2 separate regions of the Homo sapiens genome follow, and region 2 is linked to region 1. Evidence: promoter capture Hi-C in 16 types of primary human blood cells and fetal thymus (Javierre and others, 2016). All regions are on one chromosome and are shown on one strand. Each heading gives the region's core, a stretch centred on a gene start or on the middle of the fragment in contact. The rest is flanking DNA. Distances are from core to core; before and after follow the strand shown. Region 1 holds the start of VPS35L (VPS35 endosomal protein sorting factor like). Region 2 has its middle 6.2 kb from the start of THUMPD1.

What was found. The method cuts DNA at HindIII sites, captures the fragments that hold promoters and counts their contacts. A CHiCAGO score of 5 or more calls a contact.
Region 2: a contact is called between a fragment that was not itself captured here and the fragment with the promoter of VPS35L in region 1, in 1 of 17 cell types (activated CD4 T cells). The highest score is 5.5, in activated CD4 T cells.

The regions. Positions count from the first base shown.
Region 1 is chr16:19,553,032-19,559,191 of GRCh38, forward strand. It overlaps VPS35L (VPS35 endosomal protein sorting factor like), which reads left to right and starts at 2,672. Exons shown (of 31, transcript NM_020314.7): 1 at 2,672-2,715. The coding sequence starts at 2,699. CCP110 (centriolar coiled-coil protein 110) reads left to right here. Exons shown (of 14, transcript NM_001323572.2): 14 at 1-377. RefSeq lists enhancers at 2,267-2,746, 2,306-3,268, 3,127-3,356. The HindIII fragment of the contact is 7,423 bases long and covers 1-3,453 here.
Region 2 is chr16:20,744,914-20,751,073 of GRCh38, forward strand. It overlaps a transcript of ACSM3 not described here. Among named protein-coding and RNA genes, the nearest start is that of THUMPD1, 6.2 kb to the left of the region's middle. The HindIII fragment of the contact is 7,304 bases long and covers 1-6,160 here.

The DNA of each region.
Region 1 (6,160 bases), core at 1,422-3,921:
ATTGTGGGTCTCTCCAGTAAGAAAGATGCTAAAAGTTTTGTGCACTTTTTGTGTGTGTAATGCAAATTAGTTAAAACAAATAGTTTTGGAGAAAGTTAAAACTAGCTTTAGAGTAAGGATGAGAAACTTGAGTGTTTTTAATTTAAAGATAAAAGCCTGTGTTTTACACATTCTTTTTTGGTGTTCATAGCTTCTTCTCATACAGGTGCCAGACACTGTTTGTGCTTTTGATGGATTTTTATTTATATACTTTTTTTGCTTATTTTTACTTTGAGTGGAATGTTCATTAATGTAAATTGTATTTATTTTTATACTTTTATTTTCACTAGTTTTGCTTCTAGGCAAAAAGCAAAATAAACTTTTCATCTTAAAGAAAATCTAGTTTGATTGTTTTTATTTACCAGGGGAAGGACTATTAAGAAATAGGCCGGGCATGGTGGCTCATGCCTGTAATTCTAGCACTTTGGGAGGCCAAGGTGGGTGGATCATGAGATCAGGAGTTTGAGATCAGCCTGGCTAACATGGTGAAACCCCGTCTCTACTAAAAATACAAAATTAGCTGGGCGTAGTGGTGCATGCCTGTAGTTCCAGCTACTTGGGAGGCTGAAGCAGGAGAATCGCCTGAGCCTGGGATGGGGAGGCTATAGTGAGCCGAGATTGTGCCACTGCACTGCAGCCTGGGTGACAGAGCAAGACTCCATCTCAAAACAAAACAAAAAAGAAACCGATATTAGCCAGGCATGGTGGTTCACATCTGTAGTCCTAGGTACGCTGGAGGCTGAGGCAGGAGGATCACTTGAACCCAGGAGTTACAGGTGGCAGTGAGCTATAATCGCACCACTGCACTCCAGCCTGAATGAGACTTTGTCTCCAAAACAAAAAAGAAAAAAGAAACAGATATTGAAAAGTATTAGGCCAAAACAAATATTGTATATAATCATTCTTTACAAGTTCCATGAAAGATATATCTCATTATTTAATATGTCCCCTGGGCCAGGTGCAGTGGCTCACGCCTGTAATCCCAACACTTTGGGAGGCCAAGGCGGGAGGATCACCTGAGGTCAGGAGTTTGAGACCAGCCTGGCCAACATAGTGAAACCCCGTCTCTACTAAAAGTTGGACTTTTCAGAAGGTAAAACTCAGGCTGGAAATGTCTTAACTTATTAAGAGATAGAAGCCTGCTAAGGGAAGGAGAGGGAGAAAAGAGAATGCGAAGGTTGAAGCTCACATCAAAGCTGTTAATTTGCACAACTTTAAGAATCCTCCTCTTGTTACTGCCTAATCATGCAGTGTGAGCCTAGGAAAAGGCTCCTCACCTTGACCTCTTATTGAGATGTTGCATGTGATAACATGCATGGCTGTATGGGAAGAGCTCCTTGCTTTCCCGTGGCCACCCTTTAACCCTTGTTCACTTCCAGTGTTGGGAATAGCAGGTACGAGTGGATATACTTTCCTACTCATACTGAGCTGAACACTGGAGGGCCCGTTCTGGAGATGATCCTTTTCCCTGTCATAGGTCACCATCTCATGAACAACCACAGACCACCACCCCCGAATGAAAAGTAAGAGTTATAAAAACATCGAATGCTTTCTCTCTAAGGGACCATAATGGATATCTAAGTAAGTTATAAAAGTAATAATTAAAAAAAAAATTTTTTTTTGAGATGGAGTTTCGCTCTTGTAGCCCAGGCTGGAGTGCAATGGCGCAATCTCGGCTCACTGCAACCTCATCCTCCCGGGTTGGAGCAATTCTCCTGCCTCAGCCTCCCGAGTAGCTGGGATTACAGGCGCCCGCCACCATACCCAACTAGTTTTTGTATTTTTTAGTAGAGACGGGGTTTCACCATGTTGGCCAGGCTGGTCCCGAACTCCTGACATCAGGTGAACCACCCACCTCGGCCTCCCGAAGTTCTGGGATCATAGGCCTGAGCCACCGCTCCCGGCCTAAAATAATTTTTAAAAACGTTCTGTGGTCGAAATGGATATCCACCTTCCTAGAAACACTGCTTTGCCAAGTTGGACGAAATGCGAACCCTAATTTCCCCACGTGCATTAGCTGTAGTCAATCATATTAGATCTAGGGCAGCCCTCGGTTGCTAGTCGTGGGAAGGGCATTCTGCAAGTGTCTAAAACCGCCCGCAAAGCAGTGGGTAAAGCAGCGGCCTAGAGGGGGCATGGCTGTCCCACGCCAAACAGCGTATTAGCCGCAAAACCAGGTACTGGCTGAACCTCAGTTTGCGTCTTCGCTCCGCCGCCTTCTGGAGTCCTTTCTGCCCCTAGAGGACGCAGGTGAGCTAAGCAGCAGTCATGCCCTTTACCATCATGACGCCCGCAGGCGGGACCACCCGGCACTGTAGACAGCTGCCCTTTACAATCATGACTCATAGAAACTACGGCACTCTGGCCGTGGCCGACGTTGCTCCTCCGAAGCATGGCGCCGGCGGGAGTTGTAACCCGGGCTGTCCGGAGCGGGGAGCTGCCCCTCACAAGCATGGCGTCAGCTGAAAATGAAGCCTGTGCTGTGCGGAGCGTCGCCTGCCCCTCACAAGCATGGCGTCTGCAGAAGGTGCTGTGCGGCCGCTGCGGGGCGGCCAGCTGCCCTTCACAAACATGGCGGCCGAGGGGTGCGGGGAGTGGCGGGGTAAGGATGGGAAGCCGAGCAGACGGCCCCAGAACAAGCGGTCATGTGACTGGGAAGATGGCCGTCTTTCCTTGGTAAGGAAGCAGCGGCGGGTGGGCTTTGGAGAGGGGCTGTCCTTACTTGTGATGGGGTCGGCCTGGGTCTGAGAGTGTGAATTCCTCTCTGTCGGGTTCTGGTGGTCGACCGGCCACCCCCAAGTTGTCTTGACCGTAGAATCCCTGGCCGCTACCGCGGTCCAGCGGAGCAATCTGAAGCCAGACTGGCGGGTTCTTGGTTCTCTCCCCGTCTGCTGCCTCTCTGCGCCTTCCACGGGCCCCTGTCCATTCATTCCCTAAAGAAAACTTGAGTTTCCAGGCTTCCGCGTCCCCAGAAGTTGGCGCGGGTTCTGGGGTCGCTGGATGAGGGTAATGGTGGACTCAGCTTTTAAAGTCTGGACGAGTCGGGAGATCTGGCTGTTGGTCAGTTTCCTCAGCTCCTCTGTTCACCTGGAGACTTGCTTTTCTCATCTGTAAAATGGCCGCCATTCATCCTATCCTAGGCACAGCCCTCAGACTTATTCCTTGGCCTCAAGGAGCTGACAGTATAATGGGGCAGACGCACAGTAGAGGGATGTCTAAAGAAGGCATTCGGATGAGGCACCAAGAAGGGAGTGATTATCCCCACCAGGGGGCTAGGGGAAGGCTTCAGAGAGGAGGAGTTAAATTGGGTCTTGGAGGATGAATAGGAGTCCACCATAGGGAGGGCGTGGCGTGTGCCTGGTTGGCAGGCCCGTAGGTCCCTTGTGGTTGGAGTAGCTAGGAATGAGTGACTGAAGCTTCAGGGTTCAGCAGGTGGTATGTGTGTGAGTGAAGAACTTGAGGAAGTTGTGTTGTTGATGATAGTGGGATTTGGGGACGGGGAATCTCTCCTGCATCTCAGAAAGCGAGATAATTTACTTTCTCTTCAAATGATGTGAAGTAGCTTAGATTAAATGAGCAAATGAAAGACCTTAGAAATAATCAGGTACAACCTTCTGCTTTTGAGCTTGATAAACACTTCATTTTGTCTTATTCCTTTCATTTGCCCAACACTTAAGAGACTGCTTCCTTGACACGCTACATCAGCATTGAATGCCTCTGAGCACTTCCACACCCTGAGGTTTTTTTTTTTTTTTCAGTTAATAGTCATGCTGGCTGGGTATGGTGGCTCACGCCTGTAATCCCAGCACTTTGGGAGGCCGAGGCTGGCGGATCACCTGAGGTCAGGGGTTCGAGACCAGCCTGGCCAACATGGCGAAACCTAATCTCTACTAAAAATACAAAAATTAGCTGGGCTAAATTAGTGGTGGCACGCACCTGTAATCCCAGCTACTTGGGAGGGTGAGGCAGGAGAGTCGCTTGAACCTGGGAGGCGGAAGCTGGAGTGAACCGAGATCATGCCACTGCACTCCAGCCTGGGCAACAGTGAGACTCTGTCTCAAAAAAATAATAATAAAAAATGAAAAAGTCATGCTGGCTTGACCAAAAAGCTAACCAAAAACATGAGAAACATTTGACTTCAGTGGATTTATCTGAAGTTTGCAATCAGAAAATCCAGGAAGATGCTGTCTTAATCTCTGCATCCCAGTACATTTCTACCTTTGGAATTTTAATTTTATATTACAAGCAGGCAAACAGGTGCCATAACGCTTTTAGTATTTAGGGTCTCTATAGTTCCTAATATGGCCGTGCTCTAAATATTTTGTTGTTGTTGTTTTTGTTGAGACGGAGTCTCGCCCAGGCTTGATTGCAGTGGCGTGATCTTGGCTCACCGCAACCTCCGCCTCCCGGCTCAAGTGATTCTTTGCCTCACTCTCCCGAGTAGCTGGGATTACAGGCGATGCCACCACACCAGGCTAATTTTTGTATTTTTAGTAGAGACGGTGTTTCATCATGTTGGCCAGGCTGGTCTCGAACTCCTGACCTTAAGTGATCCGCCGACCTCGGGTTCCCAAAGTGCTGGGATTACAGGCGTGAGCTACCACACCCGGCCCGTGCTCTGAACATTTCCTTTTGAAGTATGCATTCATCTTTCAGTTTCCCTAATAGACTTCTTGCTCCTTAAAAGTTAAAAGGACTGGCTGGGCGCGGTCACTCATGCCTGTAATCCCAGCACTTTGGGAGGCCGAGGCAGGCGGACCACCTGAGGTCAGGAGTTCCAAGACCAGCCTGCCCAACGTGGTGAAAGCCCGTCTCCACAAAAATACAAAAAGTAGCCAGGCATGACGGCAGGTTCCTGTAATCCCAGCTACTTAGGAGGCTGAAGTGGGAGAATCGCTTGATCCCGGGAGAATCACTTGATCCCAGGAGGCGGAGGTTGCAGTGAGCCAAGATCGTGCCATTGCACTCCAGCCTGAGCTACTAAGCGAGACTCCGTCTCAAAAAAAAAAAGTTAAAGGGACTGAGTTTTGTCCATCTTTGTATGTGGAGCCTAGAACATAATGGTGAGTGCTGAATAATATTTATGAATGAATGAGGAAACTGAGGAGGACTGCAGAGGAGAAATGAGTTTCTGTCATTAAATTTACATTTATCAAGTCCTTATTTTCTGTCAGACATCACTCGTAAAGTGCGTAACATGTAACATCATTAGGTTCTTATAACAACCCCATGTTGCGGAGGAAGAAATAGAGGCAGAGAGATGAAGCAGTTTACTTAAATTAGCCCCACAAGGGATAGCTGAGGTTTGGAAGCCAGAGGCTATGATAGTAATCATCCTCATCAGCTGGACTTCAAATCTATATCCTGGGCTGAGGTTTCTGGCTTGCGGGGTTCCCCAAATCCCACTGCCTTGTCATGGGTCTCCCCAGGAATGCCTCTTTTTACCCACAGTTTTTGCTATCCCTGCTATATTTTGGCCTGGCTAGGAGATGAGATGTCCTGTATACCCTAGATCACATTTTCCGTTTAATCCTGTGGTTATAGCACACTTGGAAATACCACCCTTTGGACCGGGCAAGGTGGTTCATGCCTCTAATCCCAGCACTTTGGGAGGCTGAGGCGGGTGGATCACTTGATGTCCGGAGTTCAAGACCAGCCTGACCAACATAGTGAAACCCTGTCTCTACTAGAAAAAAAAAAAAATTCCTCAGGCGTGGTGACGGGTGCCTGCAGTCCCAGCTAGTCCAGAGGCTGAGGCAGGAGAATTGCTTGAACCCAGGAGGCAGAGGTTGCAGTGAGCTGAGATCGCGCCACTGCACTCCAGCCTGGATGACACAGTGAGACTCCGTCTCAAAAAAAAAAAAAAAACAACCCTTGGAGTCAGAATCTCTACATCATTTTAAGAGTTTTTTTTATGTGTAGCGGTGAAGGGGGCTGGGTAATATTGTGATTGTGGAAGAAAAAGCTGTGTGGTCCGATTATGTGATTAGTAACCAAAAACTTATTTGAGAATTAAAATAGTTGAGCAAAGCATTTAGTGGATTTTGGTGTTTCCAGTATAAGGAGATTAATTTGGTTAATCATAGTGGGATTTCTGTGTATCCATATTATCAGAGGTAAA
Region 2 (6,160 bases), core at 1,513-4,012, 1.2 Mb after region 1:
TTTTTTAACAGTTTATTGTATTTCATGGTTGCTGACTGTGCAGAGAATATCCAATGAAGTGAGAAAAATATGCAACCCTGTAGCTCTCAGTCTAGACGTTAGTTATCTAAATCACACACTCATCCTGTGGCAGCTGCCGGGGCTGCGTCCACTTACTTCCTCTTCTGAAACAGGCCCTCGTCCAGCTCTAAATAACTCAGCCTTCATTTATTCCTTATTATTCTTCTTTGTTCTTTTTTGCTTATTCTTTAGACTACATCTATTATTTCATGGCTGTGTGAACTTTCACCTCCTTAGGTTACCTCCCAGACATGGACAATGGCCCAGTGTCTATCCTTAGACACCAGGGACTCTGTCGCTTGAAAACCTCTCTTAGAAGGGACCACTTGGGGCCAGGCACGGTGGCTCACGCTTGTAATCCCAGCACTTTGGGAGGCCAAGGAGGGTAGATCACTTGAGGCCAGTTCAAGACCAGACTGGGTAACATGGCAAAACCCCATCTCTACTAAAAATAAAAAAATTAGTTGGGCATGGTGGTGCATGCCTGTAATCCCAGCTATTTGGGAGGCTAGACACGAGAGTTGCTTGAACCTGGGAGGCAGAGGTTGCAGTGAGCTGAAATCGTGCCACTGCACTCCAGCCTGGGCAAAATAGACTCTGTCTCAAAATAAATAAATAAATAAATAAATAAATAAATAGAGACCACTTGGCACCTTGTGGCACCATCTAGAGTAGATTAAGGTGATCTGAGGATGTTACCTTTTGTTTTAATTAACCTATTTGCTTCAGATATTCAGAAGGCCTCACAGCCAAGCAAGGGGGGAATGGTGTGACACATTCTAGATTCCCTTTCTGTTTCTCTTCCTAACCTTCAAAGTTACTGTCCCTGAAGTTCTACTTGTATGTTCAGTACAGAACCCAGGTAGGAGATGCTCTTAGACACTCCTCGTGTTCTGACCTTGCTCCCCATCCACACTTCCTGCCTTAGTCTCTTGTTACCCAGCATCTTCAGGGAATGGATATCCTGGCTGTGAATCCCAGTCTCCTTCTGACTTGATTCCCAATATCTGCTGCCTTCAGAGTAGGTATCAAGTACGATTAAAAGCCCAGGTTCTAAAGCCAAACCAAGTTCAAATTCTGCTTTGGCCATGACCTGGCTGTGAAACTCTGAGTAAGTTACCCAAGCCAAGGTTTAGATTCCCTGTTAGATTTAAAAATAATAATAATGGAAATAATAATACTCACATCATGGGTTATTAGGAAAATCCAGTAAGATCAGTCATGACAAGTGCTTAGCTCTCAGCCACTGTTCAGTCAACATGTGCTTAAAAACAGCTGCTTTCAGACTCAGTCGTGAATCATGGAAGCCTGTTTTTTTCTTTTTGATGTAAGTATCCATCCCTCAGTCTGATCACCTAACCTCATTATTTGTCTATTATTCTCTAATTTAATGGTTCTTTTATATTTTTGGTTTACTAAAAGCTGTTGAATCCTTTTACTTAGGAGACTAAAAGGGGTTTTATTTTATTGTTCTATAGACCTCCTCTGTGGAAAAGGGGAATTTAAAAGTATATATAGCGTAAAGTAAAATAACATAAAATGCGTAAGACTGGCATGCCTTACCTCTGCCAGCTGGTTTCTGCCTCACATTTGATTGAATGACATCCCACCTTTCACTAGCTTTGTAGCCTCACTGGCAGCACTTGTCACATTTGTGCTTTCATTACACCCAGACGCTGTGTGAGAAACTCACCCAACAGCCTGATCACCCAGGCTGGAACCCAATTTTAAACCAATGTGAACTTGAGTCTGCCCCTAGAGGAGTCAAATTTGGCCTGGCCTTTGTACCTACTCAGCCCTGCTGAGTGTCCTATACTGATCCCCATCACCTCTAATTCATTTCATTCCACCAGTGCCTGGGTCCCAGTTTTGACAGATATGTTTCTCTATGGCAAACTTGGCACTTTGAGGGCCTATGTTCTTAAGGGCAAAAGTCATTAAATCTCTTTCCCTCCAATTTTATCTTTCAATTTTATACTCTAAACATACAAGTCTTTCTTCTTAAACTTTTCCTGGTGTTTTGTGGGTACTTCCTTCCCACTCCTTTGAGATTTGGTTGAATAATCTATGTTCCAAAGTAATTGTTTTGAAGCAGGAGATATAAAAAAAAAAACAAGTTTTCTTGGAGGCTGACTCACTGCAAGGCCCAGCGATAGACAGGGCTCTGGAAGGGCTTTGATAACACTATCTGCAGAGCCAGGGCCCTCAAGGGATGGGTTCCAGAGCCTCTCCCTGCCATCCCAGAGCAGGGATGAGAAAAACAAGTTTTTCTTCTCTTTCAGCTTCCGCCTTCCCCCTTATCATTCTCATAATTATTTTGCAAAGTTTTATAAGTTCCTGTTTTTCCCTTCTGTACAGCATGGCAAGGTCACAAGATATGCTTCAGTTGCAAAACCTGTCACTGTTTAACAAACTGCCTTTGTTCTGCTTCTGTAAGCTGCTTACCCACCCTACAGGTTTCACACCATCAAACTGGCCAACCCCCTTTCAAATTCATGTATAAAAGTCAAGCCCTGTCTTTGTTCAGGGCTCAGCCTTTGGGTGTTAATCCGCTGGGCTGGTGCTCACCTAATAAAATCCTCCTGTCCCACCCATTGGTCTCTCCTGTCCCTTAATTCCTGCAACAGTTTTATTATTTAGTTTTACTTCTTTGAGCACTTCTAGATCATCCGCCTGCTTCTTACTTTCACTTCAGTCAATGCTCCAAAGAATGAATCACCAATGGTGGCATCTCAGTTTAATAAGTTACAGAAAGATAATTCCATTTACCACTCAAATCATGCTATGGACTGCATATTCCACCAATGCAGAACACTAGTCTTGAGTAAAACACTGATATAAGAAATATAAATTTCAGGGTAGGTATAGTGTACATGTAAGAGTCTAGCTGGGCATGATGGCTCACGCCTGTAATCCTAGCATTTTGGGCAGCCAAGGCAGGTGGATCGCTTGAGCTCAGGAGTTCCAGACCAACCTGGGCAACATGGTGAAGCCCCATCTTTACAAAAACTACAAAACTTAGGTGTGGTGGTGCACACCTGTGGTCCCAGCTACTTGGGGGGCTGAGGTGGGAGGATCGTTTGAGCCCAGGAGGTCAAGGCTGCAGTGAGCCATGATCTGACCACTGTACTCCAGCCTGGGGGGACAAAATGAGACCATGTCTCAAAAAATAAATAAATAAATAAATAGATAGATAAATAAATAAATAAACAAAGAGTCTAGGGTAACTGGAGTTTAGAGGTTCTTTCAGTACAAATAAGGCCTAAATAAGAATTATCTACATGAATACTCAGGTTGAATAATTTATATTTAAATGAAAAATTGAAGGGAAGCCACATCCTCAGTAAGAGTACAGCATTCAATGTATAGATGAACAAAGACAAATTGATTAAGAATATATTTTAGGGGTCACACCATCCTGAGTTTAAATACTGAGTCCACCACATTGCTAGTTCTGTGACCTTGGGGAAGTTAATTGTTCTAATCCTCATGTTCCTCATCAGTAAAATGAGAATAGCCACAGCATCTATCTTAAAAGTCATTGTGAGTATTGAATAAAATATTCATGTCAGTTGCACATACAAATATTCAATAAGTGTTCACTGCTGCTGTTTTGTTGTAGCTGTTGCTAACTGGAACGTTTGGTAGAGATAATTTTTACCAAAAAAGTTGAGGTTGAGACTCAGGCTTTTTGTGTTGGTCAGTTTGCTTTGATGTGTTTCCAGCCACTTCTTGCTGGTTCTCAGTACCCCAGAGATAACCTATTATATCTAAACATGTTAATATGAAAAGCTCTGGCTGGAGGCAGTGGCTCACACTTGTAATCCCAGCACTTTGGGAGGCCGAGGCAGACAGATCACTTGAGGTCAGGAGTTCGAGACTAGCCTGGCCAACATGGTGAAACCCCATCTCTACTAAAAATACAAAAATCAGCCATGTGTGGTTGTGGGCACTTGTAACCCCAGCTACTCGGGAGGCTGAAGTAGAAGAATCATTTGAACCCAGGAAATGGAGGTTCAATGAGCCATAATCGCACTCTATGAGCCATTGCACTCTAGCCTGGGTGACAAGAGCGAAACTCCGTCTCCACAAAAAAAGAAAAAAGAAAAGATTTTCAAAGTGAGATATGTGTAATATGAACTAACTTATGTTTTAAAGGGGAATATCTATATATCTATGTGCACATAGATATACACATATGTATATATATGTGTGTTATATTTTAATCCTATATATATATGAAAATGATGGTTAATAAGACCTACTGTTTTTCCACATTTCCCAACTAAAGCCCAAAGATAAGAATGAAGAGACACTAAACCTCTGATTTTTGCATTCTAAAGAGAATTGTCAACAAGGACTAAGTGAAGCATCTCTCTCCAGGTTTGTGAAAAGGTAACTCTACTGGCTCTGCTACCTCTGACCAATTTCCCAGCCTCACCATCCTGCTTCTCAGCTTATGTTAGAAGCCTGGGAAAGGGGAGAAGAGTATTTTCACCCCCTTTGCTGTCAGGGTTACCAAGGGAATCCCCTGTGAAGGTGAGAGGTGGTTCTAAGAAGAGACTGGCATCACATTCCTTGGTTGATATTCCCCTCTGCCTGGCTGAGTGAGAAACTGAGCCAGAAAGAGAAGTAGAGACAGATGGCAAGGCAGAGACAGTAGAGCAGGGGTGGAGGACAGCAGAGGAGAAGCCTGAAGCATAAGATAGGGTGTTGCAAGTATATGTGCATATCTGGTACATCAAATGGATCTTCAGAAGTTGCCTGGGCTTGACCAGGTAGACCCAACAGACAGAGGATGAAAGTCACACCCAGCATAGTAAGCCCTCTAACTCCAATCTTGTTTCCTCGCCCTCAACAATGGAGGCTCCAGAGTGTAAAAGAAGGAGAAGGGAAAGGTGTCAGTGACAAATAAGGCCATGTGTCTCTATTCCAGGTGTCAGAGCCAGAGGAGAAGAGTGGACAACCCAACTGCCCACCACAGGTCCCTAGAAGTACAGGTCAAGCCTATGCTGGGGAGAGGCAAACAGGTACAACATACACTGGGTTTGAGATTTAAATTTCTGAGTGGACCAACTTTTAAAAACTGAAAGTGATTGTGAAATTGTGGAATCATTCCAAAAGGTCATTACATTAAGGGATAATAAAGGGGGAAAACAAAAATTGGGGGAAAAAGTGTTAAGACTTGATTGGAAAACTAGTTACATATATCTATCCCACTTACTCCCTTGAGACTACTCTTTATTTTATATCAATCTGTATCTTTTATTATAACCATATGCGTGTATTATTTTTATATGTTAAAATAGTGTTATTTCTTGATGTAGATGCTTACCAAAGTATTTCTCTTTTCTTCTGGGTCCTCAGATTGGCTAATTTCTCAGGTCCCTGGAAGTGAGGGTGAGGCTATTGAAATGTGGGCAGAAGTGATACATGCTACTTCTAGGCCTAAATTCATGAGATCCTTCATAAATGCATTTCTCTTCCCCTAAACACCCCCCTCTCTCTCGTTTCTTGTCAGCTATCTGATTTCAGAGGATCCAACCAGGACTCAGGCTTAGGGGAGAGCGGGGCCTCTGAATATAAGGATCCTGAGTCTACTACTTAAAGTGACAGCCACCTAGGAAAATCCATTAAGCAAAAAATTCTGCATCAGACTTAAGCCTCTGAGCTTTAGATTTGTTTATTTCTGCAGCCTAGCCTAGCACACCTTGACTAATACACTGGGAATCCAGAGTTTGTTCAGAATGTCTTCACTATTCTTGTTACAACTTTATTGTCCATAGAGATTATAAACACTGTGCTTCAGACAAATTAAGAGAGCAAGAGGCCTCATAATGTAGTAGAGAGAATATAAGTTTTGGAGTCAGGTTTTTTTTTTTTTTTTTTGAAACGGAGTCTTACTCTGTTGCCCAGACTGGAGTGCAGTGGTGCAATCTTGGCTCACTGCAACCTCTGCCTCACAGGTTCAAGCAATTCTCCTACATTAGCCACCCAAGTAGCTGGGATTACAGGCTCACACCACCATGACTGGCTAATTTTTGTATTTTTAGAATCAGGGTTTCACTATGGTGGCCAGGTTGGTCTCAAAATCCGTCTG